4 separate regions of the Homo sapiens genome follow, and all the other regions are linked to region 3. The links are contacts of gene promoters, found by promoter capture Hi-C in blood cells and fetal thymus (Javierre and others, 2016). All regions are on one chromosome and are shown on one strand. The core of a region is centred on a gene start or on the middle of the fragment in contact, and the rest is flanking DNA. Distances in the headings are between cores, read along the strand shown. Region 1 overlaps SLC24A3 (solute carrier family 24 member 3). Region 2 overlaps SLC24A3 (solute carrier family 24 member 3). Region 3 holds the start of SLC24A3 (solute carrier family 24 member 3). Region 4 overlaps SLC24A3 (solute carrier family 24 member 3).

The links. Contacts are between HindIII fragments. The CHiCAGO score rates a contact against its expected background, and 5 or more counts as called.
Region 1: a fragment that was not itself captured here is called in contact with the fragment with the promoter of SLC24A3 in region 3 in 1 of 17 cell types (megakaryocytes); the score reaches 6.7 in megakaryocytes.
Region 2: a contact is called between a fragment that was not itself captured here and the fragment with the promoter of SLC24A3 in region 3, in 4 of 17 cell types (megakaryocytes, M1 macrophages, M0 macrophages and 1 more). The highest score is 6.9, in megakaryocytes.
Region 4: a fragment that was not itself captured here is called in contact with the fragment with the promoter of SLC24A3 in region 3 in 1 of 17 cell types (megakaryocytes); the score reaches 7.6 in megakaryocytes.

What each region holds. Positions count from the first base shown.
Region 1 is chr20:19,513,142-19,515,841 of GRCh38, reverse strand. It overlaps SLC24A3 (solute carrier family 24 member 3), which reads right to left. Exons shown (of 17, transcript NM_020689.4): 3 at 278-354. Among named protein-coding and RNA genes, the nearest start is that of SLC24A3-AS1, 230 kb to the right of the region's middle. The HindIII fragment of the contact is 3,344 bases long and covers 1-2,700 here.
Region 2 is chr20:19,494,628-19,497,527 of GRCh38, reverse strand. All of the region lies in intron 2 of SLC24A3 (solute carrier family 24 member 3), which reads right to left. Among named protein-coding and RNA genes, the nearest start is that of SLC24A3-AS1, 210 kb to the right of the region's middle. RefSeq lists an enhancer at 1-881. The HindIII fragment of the contact is 3,454 bases long and covers 1-2,900 here.
Region 3 is chr20:19,211,345-19,214,103 of GRCh38, reverse strand. It overlaps SLC24A3 (solute carrier family 24 member 3), which reads right to left and starts at 1,462. Exons shown (of 17, transcript NM_020689.4): 1 at 1,120-1,462. The coding sequence starts at 1,261. LOC101929547 (a long non-coding RNA gene) reads left to right here and starts at 1,636. Exons shown (of 3, transcript XR_007067549.1): 1 at 1,636-2,475. RefSeq lists a silencer at 1,062-1,111. The HindIII fragment of the contact is 7,870 bases long and covers 1-2,759 here.
Region 4 is chr20:19,475,009-19,477,708 of GRCh38, reverse strand. The region is part of intron 2 of SLC24A3 (solute carrier family 24 member 3); the gene reads right to left. Among named protein-coding and RNA genes, the nearest start is that of SLC24A3-AS1, 190 kb to the right of the region's middle. The HindIII fragment of the contact is 6,432 bases long and covers 1-2,700 here.

The DNA of each region.
Region 1 (2,700 bases), core at 115-2,614, 300 kb before region 3:
GGGTTAAGTCATGGAGAGTGGGGCTGTTTGACTTTAGAGTCCACACTCTGGGCACTAACATGAAGGGAAAGTGCATAACAGATGGCTCCACCTTCGAAAGCTGTGGTCTTTCATCTCCATTTGGTGATGGCCCCCTACAGAGCTCGAAGGACCCCCACCAGGCAGCGTGGGAACAGGAGGGCAGAGAGAATCTACTGGGGGCACCTCAGGTGCCACACCCCACACCCCTAGGCCTAGCCTATGGACCCTCCAGGCAGAGGCACAGAGGGGTACTTACACAGAGCACATGGAGGACCACCGCACCTTGTCTTCTATCCTCGTTTGTGAAGATGTCATTGGGGAATTCATGCAGGGCTAAAGAACAGAGAAAGAAAACCGTCTCAGCACAGGTGACCACATTTTCAGTGCTGTAGGTCTGGGAGTCTTGGTTTTAACATGGGGTCCATGAACTTGGATGAAAAAAAGATCCTGAATCTTTAAGTTCACAAAACTAACCAGAATTTAGTGTTTCCTTCAGATAAGAACGTGGGCAACCAACCACAGTAGCGTTAGCAGAACCTGGGGCTCGGCCCCACAGATATTTTCATAACACGTCATACCATCATACTTGTGCAGCTCTCACCCACTGCTTCAATCTTATGGTGGTTGTTAGGTCACCACCTGTGACTTAAAGTGTTAATGAGGAAGCACGTGAACTACTATATTGCAAATTTGTTTTCTAATACTTTGACAGCTTCATTTCCACACAGTCAGTTTCCATGTGTAACCTTATGTACTTTGCTGCATGCATGCATTGAAAACTGCTTTTCTGAGCGGGGGCTGTAGGCTTCACTGGATCACCAAAAGGGTCTGTGGCTCAGACAGATTTGAAGCCCCTGCTCTAAGTGGGTCTTCATTTTGCTCCTTTTCCACTTTGCCTGACCTGGCTTAGGGTGTGGGCCTCGTGTGCTATTAGAACAACCCCCTCCCTGCTCCCTCCCTCTGCTCCCCTTTCTAAGTTGACCTCCATTTGTGGCTGGACCAGAATGCCAACCACAGGGATGTTCATGCCTTCTCAATGTTCCAAAACCTTTCTGCCTTGAGATGAAAGCTGGAGTCTGTGAACTGACGGTCCCAAGAAGGTCCTCCACCACTAACCAGGCCTCCTGTCCCTTCCTCTCATAAAATCCAATCAACCTTCTGGGCCAGGTTCTCACATCTCCTCTCCTTTATGAAGCCTCCTGTGGTCCCTCCGATAGGAATCCACGGCTCCTTTGCTGGAGGATGTGCCCACCAGGCGCGGCAGGAAGCAGCACACACCACCCCCACCCACAGCCCCACATGGGCAGACATCACCAGCTGCTGAAAGAAGTCTTTCCCTCTGAGCTTGATGATGTCTCCAAGTCTTTCTCTAGCAAGTTCTTAGAGAAACCACCACCATTTGATGGGGAGGATATGCTAGATGATACCTGCTTGCCACCTGTCTTATTTTGGATTCCTCTAAAAGCAGACCCTCCGACAAGGATGTGGAGCTATGTGGTTTACTTGGGAGATGACTCCAGGATGCACTGTGCATGAGGGAGGCAGTGCAGCCAGGAAGGGGAGAAGAGACAAAGACAGTGCTGCTAAGGAGTGAGTGGATGACCTCTGAGACATCCAGGCCCAGTTCTGCTGGGGACCCCTGGCTTGCCCGGAGGATTTGTGCAAGACACAAGCCATCGGTCACTGCTTGAAAAGGCTCTGCTCTCTGCATCCAAGGCAGCATTGGCTTAAGGCATTGTGCAGGTATTGGGTTGGAGCCACACGAAGTGTTTGGGCCAAAGGGTACGTCTAGTACATAAAGCAAGGCTCACCTTCCAAAGTACAGCAAGTGGGGGACAGTTAAAAATACTACATTATATACTTGAAACTTGCGAAGAGGATGGATCTAAATCTTCTCACTACACACACACACAAACACACACACATAAATGATAACTATGTAGAGGTAATGGATACGTTAATGAACTGAAATGTGGTTAACATTTCACAATGTATCTGTATATCAAAAGATCAAGTTGTATACCTTAAGCATATACAATTTTTATACGTCAATAATATCTCAAAAAGGCTTTTTTTTTTTTTCTAAAAAAAAAGCAAGACCCACCTGTGTGTCTAGCCAATCACAATCTCTAGTTTTGTATGGTCCTTTAAACATAAAAAAGGAGACAAGAAAAGACAGGAACATCATGATTATGGGAGGATTTTTCTAAGCTGAAGCTGCTCTAAACAGGCTGCACAGAGCCCCTCTGAACAATGAATAAACTGGGAGAAGCCTGGAGGAGTTTCCCTTGGGGACCAAAATGAAGCCACGATCTGGAAATTAATGTGAGGGGCAGAGGGATGACAACAGTGAGCATTTATTGAGCACCTGCTCCTGGCAAGCACTGTACCTTGCACTTTGCCCCTGTGATCCCATCTTATCCTCACAAACAGATTATTATTCCAGTTCTGTAGATGAGGAACCCAAGGGGAAGACAGATGGGGCAACATGCTTGGGCTCCATGGCTGGAAAGTGGGAGAAGGGCTGCACACCCAGCAAACCCAGGGCTGGGGACGCCCCTCACACATGCCACCCCCCTACTGCATGGATCTGCAATTCCATTCTGCCCTCTGACTTCTTCCTTCTGTGACCTCCTCCAAAAGAGGATTTGACCTGATTTACATTCAGCTGCCACTCTC
Region 2 (2,900 bases), core at 43-2,542, 280 kb before region 3:
GCATCTGCAAAACATGTGGAATTGCATTACATTTCACAGTACATTAGAGCCCAAAATGGGACCCGAGACTAAAATTGGCCAACTTCCTAATTAGCCTTTTACTAAGCCTTGGGCTGGAGAAACATGACCCCGGAGGACATAGCGTCTGGGATTCTGCTCCTCACTGCAGGCCTTGCGGTAAGTATCTTTCTCCAACTAGAGCTTCCTATTCAGATGAAACGGTCCTAGCCCCTTCTACCCAAAAAGGGACTGGTTTGGAGTTCTTGCCTTATTTGAGTGCCGGAAATGTCTACTTGTGTCTCAACATTTGTCATGGGCTAAGAATGAGCTGGGAGCTGACTCAGATTCTCCTGTTGCCTGAGATACATCCTGATGGAAAGCATGTTGGCACCTTTTGTAGGGACTCTTTCTATGCCCCAGGGCCCTTTTTTATCATGTGCACATTTTACGGCCATGGGGCAAATCGCTGGTACCCCATGGGGTAAATGGCTGGTACCCTAATGTCTACTTAGTGTGTTGGAACTCACAAGGAGAAGGCAGAAGGAGTTGATACTGGGGCTTGCAAAAGAGCTCAGCTTACAACAGAAAGAAGTTTAGACACTGGGGAAGAACAGGCCTGGTGCTGTTATTGCTCCCACAAACTCCTCTGAAAGTTGCTATAATGGAACTGAAGCTGGCAGTCAGGGTTCTGTCCTCCTCCCTGGAAAGCCCTTTACCATTTTGCTAACTCCAGCTCCCAGAGTGCTTCTACACTCAGGAGCCAGCACCCAGGGCTCGGTTGTGCTGAAGTTCCTCTCTGTGGGACTCTGCTTGACACCGTGCCCTTCTTGACCTCCTACCTTTTCCTGATCACACTATGTGCTCTCTGACCAGTTTTTCCAAGAAGCATGTCCAACATGGCTTTCACGGGAATGCTCATGCCAGGCTCAGGTTCTGGCAACCCAGGCTAACTCAGGAGCCACACAAATGCTGCTTCTTCCACAAACATTCTCTTGATCATTCCAAAGGAATCCTGCAATAAATTGCTACAGAGATTGGGAATCCAACCACAGGAGTGCAGGCTGGAGGGTGGGCGATGGACAGCAACTTGTTCCCCACATCCCTGAGCTATGTGGGGATATGGCTTCATATGCTCCTTTAATGTGACAGGGTCCTGAGTGAACCATGCACATCACTCCACAGCCCATCAGCTCCTGAGTGTCTGTTTTTGCTCAGTGGAAAAGCACATTTCCTGTTGAGACTCCAGCATGCCTATCGGGCCTTGCTGCATGGAGACCGGCTGGCTGGTGTTGAGGATGGACTGATGCTAGACTAGGCTTACTCTGCGAAATCATCAGTGAGAAGCGGGTGAGGCCAGAAGTGCAGAAGCCACAGAAACAACCACCCGTGGCCAAAGTTTCCATTCCCTGTGCCAGCCAAAGGGAGCCGGGGTGTCCCAGAGGCATGTCTGACTCGTCTGCACTGAGAGGCGGCAGGGAGAGTGTCTTCTCAGTGTTTTCACTGGCTTGAACACGTTCCAGACATTTCTATGTTCTTCTGTCACATTGTTTTTAAAAAAAATCTTGTTTTTGCCGGAAACTCAGATCCAAAGAGCCAAACAGAATCCACTGTGTGGCTATGTATTGGTGTGTTGGAAGCAGGCGCAGACTCAGGTGACAACAGGATGCCCAGCCTGAAATCTGGGGTGCTGTGGAGGATGTGGATATTAGAACCACATGGTATGGAAGAAAATGGCAAGTTGGGTTTCAGAATGGAAAAGATTGTACTTTTCTGTGACCATTTCCAAATAACAGAAAGGGAAGTTCTAGAGAAAAGGCAAGAAGTGAAGTGAATGGTCAGGGCAAGATTGGGCACAGCCGAGGGAGTCAAGTCTTGCAAATATCATCCACCCAAAAGGTATGGACCACACACATTTTGGCCAGCCTTGCCTTTCCTGAGGGAAGCTGTACTGCCATACAACGAATGAAATCAGCCTTTTTATGCTCTAATATTTTAACAAGCCTGGATGAATAGCTGAGCGGCTACATCCACAGCTGGCGATGCTCTACAGAGCGAGGCGTTCATGTCTGACCAGCTACATTCACTTATGTATCCACCCCTTCCCCTACTTTTACAAAACATGTCTAAAAGCTGAGAAGGAAAGGGCTGGAAAGGAAAGGGAGTTCTCATAGACAGATGAATGATGTCTCCTTGTAAAGGTGACAAGAACTTGTACATCCAGTCCAATGCAAAGTACAGGCAGGACAACCACATGACTATGTCTTGTAGATGCTGTTGGTGCCCGCTCAGAAACCCTTTCTGGGGCTGATGCATCCAGCTCCTGATAAAGGCTAAGAGTAAGTTCTCCAGAGTTGCACTTGGCCAGTGCATGCAACCTCACCCAGAAATGCCTAGAAGATTAAGTCCTCACTCCAAGAGGGGTGGTAGACACTAGGGTACAAAGGCCAGCTCCTGCCTCAAGGCAGGACAGCTCTGTGGTGCCATTCACACTCCATGGTCTCCTGGGATCCACCTGAGGCTGGTCTGCAGCCAACACCACTCCTTTGTTGCCTCCTTTCCTGCCTGATCCTGTTTCTCTCACTCCTTTTCTCTGGAGATCTCTCCAACAATGAATGACTTGCACAAGAATCTCTGTCTTGGGGACCCAACCCGAGACAACCTCTTCAGTTGGCTTTTGTTCTAAGTCTCCAAAGGAATGGGGCATCCCTTTGAATTGTAAAATGCATCAGAGGTGAGTCCTCTAGCCTTTTCGGGATGGCCAGAGCAAGATTTGCCTCTTAATCCCTCTAAGTCACTGCAGCCCAAAGCTGGATGAGTGGGTCTAGCTCCTTCTGTCCCAAATTCCAGGCTCAGGAAGACCCTAGTCCAGGCTGTGCACCCTGGAAACTGACCTACAGCAC
Region 3 (2,759 bases), core at 213-2,712:
AGATCCCTTTTTAAATTCATGGCACCTTTGAAAATATTTTACGGTGACTATCAAAATGTCTTTATTCTGCACCTCATGACATCTTGCATTAGAGCTACGTCGACCTCAACACCACAGCACATACTTGTAACTGTTTTTTTGTTTGTTTGTTTTGTTTTGTTTTGTTTCTTTCTCACAACCCTTTACATGGCTGTTTTCCCACTAATCGTGCCACTTCCACGGCCGGGATATAAAACCATTTTACAACAGTTATTCTCCCATGTTTTTCCTTCATTTTATAGACAGCTGAATCCCAGGATCGAAGCTGTTTCAGCAGACAACTGTTGGGAGCACACAAGATCTATTTCAGCTCAAGAAAGGCCAAGGACAAAGACAAGACAAAAGTTGTGGGTTAAAGGGCAGACTTTGCGCAGAGCACCGGTAGAGGAGCGGACAGTGTGATGCGTGGTCCACTGCAAACCATTTCTTCCACAGCAGCAGCTCTGCAAAAGGGACCTCTGAGGAAGAATTCCCTGTCTTCCCAGTGAGTGGTCATTTTAGGAGAACAAGTCCCCTACTAGCCCATAGCTGGAGGGCCAACACTTTTTCTCTCCCTGAAGTTCCCGGCACCTGTTCTGAAAGGGGGTTGAAGAGCTCTCTACTCGGGCCATCCCGCCTGCTCTCTGGATGGAGAACATACGGACAACTGTGTGTTAAGCAGTCCCCTTGAATCCTTCAGCAAGCCAAGGAGTATACAGGTGGTCACCTGCACAGGTGCCGGGTCTACCACCACAACTTTATCCCTGGCCTTGGGGGCTGATGGAGAGTAAGACTCCCCACCACCGCCACCAGCAGTACCTCCAGCTCGCGAGTAAGCAGCGCACAGGCGGGCACAGGTAAATGTTCCCAGGGCGGCCAGACGCCTAAGCCTGCTGGCTGCTGGCGCTCAGGGTCCCCACCTCCATGCCTCTGCGTGGGGCAGGGGGAGTCCTCGTGCCTGGCATCCCACTCCCCCCGCCAACCCAGCCCGCTTATCCTGGGGCTCCGGCCGGGCCGCCCGAAGGAGCCCCGCGCCCAGCCCCGGGAGCCCCGAGCCGCCGGAGCCGCAGCGCCCACTCGGGGCAGGCAGCGTGCACTCACCCTTCTGCTCTCGCAGGCTCGACAGCGACCAGAGCAGCAGCGCCACCGAGGCCAGGAAGCAGAGCTGGCTCAGCAGAAGGTCCCTCCGGCGGCGGCGGCGGCGGCGGCGACGCGCGCGGTCCTCGTCGCCGGACGGCCGCATCCTCGGGCGGCCGGGCGGCGGCCTCGGCGGGCGGCGGCCGCTCCTGTCGCGGGCGGCCGCGGCGGGGACAGCGGCAGGAGGCAGCCCTGCGCGCAGCAGCCGCGCGTCCTCGCTGCGCTCCCACCCGGCCGCCGCCTCCGCCTCCTCTTCCTCCTCCTCGCCGCTGCCCGTCTCCTCGTCGTCGCCCTCCTCGTCGCTATCGCCCAGTCCCTCCTCCCCTCCCTCCTCCTCCTCCTCGCCGCTCGCCCGCGCCGCCGCCTCCCGGCGCTCGGGGTCCCGCTCCTCCTCGCGCGCCATGGCTCCCACGCTCCGCGCCCGCGCTCGGCCTGGGGCGGCGGCGCGGCGGGGGCGGCGGGGGCGGCCGGGAGGCGGGGGCGGAGGGGGCAGAGGAGGAGGAGCGGGGAAGGACCGACGGTAGGAGGGCCCGCCGCTGGCCAACTCCGCCGGTTGGCAAAGCCACCCCGGACTGGCTCTGGCCTCGCCGGCTGCAGGAGCGCCTCGCGGGGCCGCCCGCCTATTCCATGGTCGGCGCGATGGGGGCCGGGGCCGGGCCGGAGCGAACAGGGAGCACCGAGCGAGCTGGGAGCATGAGCTAGCGCAGCTCCCGGCAGCCTGCAGCGGCGAGGCTGGTCGGGCCAGGGTTGGCGGGGGGCAGTGCCTGGGACACAGCCCGGCGCTGGCCGGCATGGCGGGGAGGGGGCGCGCTGGGAGGAGACTGGGCTGGGGAGGGATCCCTGTGTGCAGTCCTTCAACCCTTCTGTGCCAGGGGAAGAGGGACGGCGCAGGGGGCCCCCTCTCGGGAAGCACACACGCTGCCTCCCAGAGGCCGATCTTCACCAAGAAGGATTCGCTGGAAACTTTCGGAAAACCGAGGGGCTCTTCAGCCTCCTCTCTACGTGCTACCTGGAGTCGGGGCGCCGCGAGTGCGCTTGGCTGCCCGCGCCCAGCCTCTGGCCTCGCCTCTTCTCGCGGGCCTCCCGGGTTTCCCTCTGCCCCCTTGCGGGGATCCCCCTGTGCGCCCGACTCGGGATCTGGAACAGGCCTCCCCAGAGGCTGTTAGTTCCATAAGGGTGTCCGGCTCCCCCCTCTGTCTTGGGCTCACACTTCGCTTTCTGTTCGTGCTGGACCAAGTCCAATACTGTGGCTGATCGAAGTGGGGACAGCTGGCACGGTCCCTGGAGAGGCGGCCTGAAGAGGCTTCTGGCCTTGTGCAGGTAACACCAGCCTGCCCTACCTCCAACGTTAGAATCTTAGTCCTCCCATTTCCCCCATTCTAGGTCTCCTGCCCCTCCTTGCTGAAGGTGTGGGCTGCCCTAGAGATGGCTGGACTCACGACCTGCCGCAGGTGCCCATTTGGAGGGGATCCCTGGCCATCCCAGACACAGCCCACTCTCCCTCATTGGGCTTCCCTGGACTCTTCCCAGATGCTAGCCTGGGGCTGCTGGCTGGGCTGAGGAGGAGATGCCATTGTTGGGGCGGAGGGTGGGGGGGCGCTGAA
Region 4 (2,700 bases), core at 24-2,523, 260 kb before region 3:
TCATCGACACTTTAGGTACATGGCACATGGCACCCTCATGCCAGGATAGCACTGCCAGGAGGAGCCAGAGTTGAACCAAAAGCCAAAAACTCTCTGCCTATCCAAGGACTGTGGTGTCTGTGATGCTGAACTCTGGATGAAGCACTGATCTCTCTCTGTTGAGTTCCTTCCACACACTTACACTGTGGAAGAGAAATTTTGTAGCTCAAAAATACTTCTGGGTAATGACTTTATCTGCTATTAAAATCTCACCTTTTTTGGACTTAGCTTGCCTCCAAATAAATTGGCGATCTACTCCCTGCAGGTTCTACCAGTTGCAAACACCTGCCTCTTTCTCCTGGATTTGTTATTCCTGTAAACGTTAGTGGCATCCACACAAGCTCAGAACAGAGGATCTGGAATCTTTTGGCCTCCTCAGGCTTGACCCAGCCCAGGGTCCAGCCAGTTTCCAAATTTGGAGGCCCATCTCCTGCTTGCTTCAGCAGTGCCTCCACTCTTCCTCACCTCGTTGCCATCTGGCAGGTCCTAGGAGTTCCACCTGCTGGATCCATTATAAAGAAGGAGTACTTCCTTTCCCAGTCTCTTCTGCTTGCGTCTGCCTGGTTAATAGCCCTGTGTCAGCTCAGCTGTCAGCAGAGTGAGGACCACAGTCCTTACTATGGCTAGGCACCAGTCCTCGTCTTGCATTTATCCCACCCCAGCTCAGCTGACACCCGTAGGGTTTACCCACAGCAAGAAAAACGAGCCCTTACCTTCCTTGCATTATTATTTGTTTCTAAGTCTCGAAAATGCCCTTATAGTGCCCAGAAGAGAGAGGAGGGCAAAAGAATCAGAGGGAGAGAAGATTAATGAGCAAGCAGGCATTGCTGTGCTATCGTTCCTCCTCTGGTGGATGCCTCTGGAATTTTTTGTGCTTTGGGAGAGGAGCCCTGCCTGGGTTCCCATAATTATGGACACTGACATCCTTGCTACGGAAGGCCCCATACTTTCAACTGGATTTCCCTCCTTTCTGAAGCAACCATCTTCAAGCATTCACCTAACTCTCTCCGACAATATGTTGTATAGTTTTACATATTTTGAATGCTAGTCCTTTATCAGACATGTACTTTGCCAAGATTTTTCTCCTAGTCTGTGGCTTGTCTTTTTATTCTCTTCATGGTGTCTTACACAGAGCAGAGGTTTTGAATTTCAATGAAAGCCAGCTTAGCAAATTTTCCTTTCATGGATCATGTTTTTGGTATTGATCTAAAAGATCATCACCAAACCTAAAGTCACCTAATTTTCTCCTATGTTACCTTCCAGGAATTTTATGGTTTTGCATTTTACATTGAGGCCTACATTTAATATTGCACAGCAGGAAGAAAAGTCATTCGCTAACCAGTAAGAACATCAGGGATGGCCTTACTTCTGTTTTTCATCAAGTCCAGGATTTACACCTGAGGCAAGCTCGGACATATTATTTTTAACTACCAACATCTCAGATTAATATCAATTGCTCACCAGAATGAATCTCTGAAGGCATTTATATAACCAGCTGCAACACCAGCAAGGAAGACATTGGGCAGGCAGAGGACTCTAGCTCTCCGGCCTGGGAGTGGATCGCGTGGGTCTGACAGAAGAATGGGAGATCAAGGAGGATGTTACATCCACAGTGAGTTTTCCCAAGTCATTTGCCTATTTTCCCACATGCTTTGCTAAACTGTCCTTCTGTCTGATTTGGCCAAGGCTATTCCCATTGTTATAGATTAGGCTCAAGTCCTAATGTCAGTTCTGGGCTATCTCCTTCACACTACTCATTGGTTTGGTTTGATGCTGTAGTTTTAATAAAACCCAAAACACATTTCCAAGTATAGAGTAGGAAGAAAATGTTTCTTTGTTGCTCTCCATCAGAATATTTTCAGGTCTTTAGGTAAATCTAAAAATAAATTTTTGGAATTTTTAAATTAAACTGAAAAAATGATTTAAAAATAAGTTTCCATCCTTCACCCAAGAACACATACTAATTAAAATAGTTTTCTTTATATAGGTTGTGCAAGATTAAAGTCAATTCCTATTTATTTTATTATTTCTTTTTTTGTCATTATAATGCAAATAAAAGATTGAGTGTATCTTCTAACTGGTCATGTCCAGTAACTGGAAGAACTATTAGTTTCTGCATATTTATCTTATGTTCAATCATTAACACTTTCTTATTAATTTTAAGAGATTATCACTAGATTCTCATGATTTTCTAGGTCTATCATATTATCTGCAAATAATAGCAGTTATCTTTGTATTTACAATAGCCATCCATTGGGCCCTTTAAAACGGTAAATGGAAATGGGAATGGTGGCCATTCTCTGCCTTGGATGTGATTTTTTTTTTTTTCTTGAGACAGAGTCTCACTCTGTTGCCCAGGCTGGAGTGTAGTGGCGCGATCTCAGCTCACTGCAAGCTCCACCTCCCTGGTTCATGCCATTCTCCTGCCTCAGCCTCCCGAGTAGCTGTGACTACAGGCAACCGCCACCACGCCCGGCTAATTTTTTTGTATTTTTAGTAAAGATGGGGTTTCACCATGTTAGCCAGGATGGTTTCGATCTCCTGACCTTGTGATCCTCCCACCTCGGCCTCCGAAAGTGCTGGGATTACAGGCGTGAGCCACCGCGCCCAGCCTGGATGTGATTTTTATGGGGCGTGTGTATTTCCTGGTCACCTCTATTG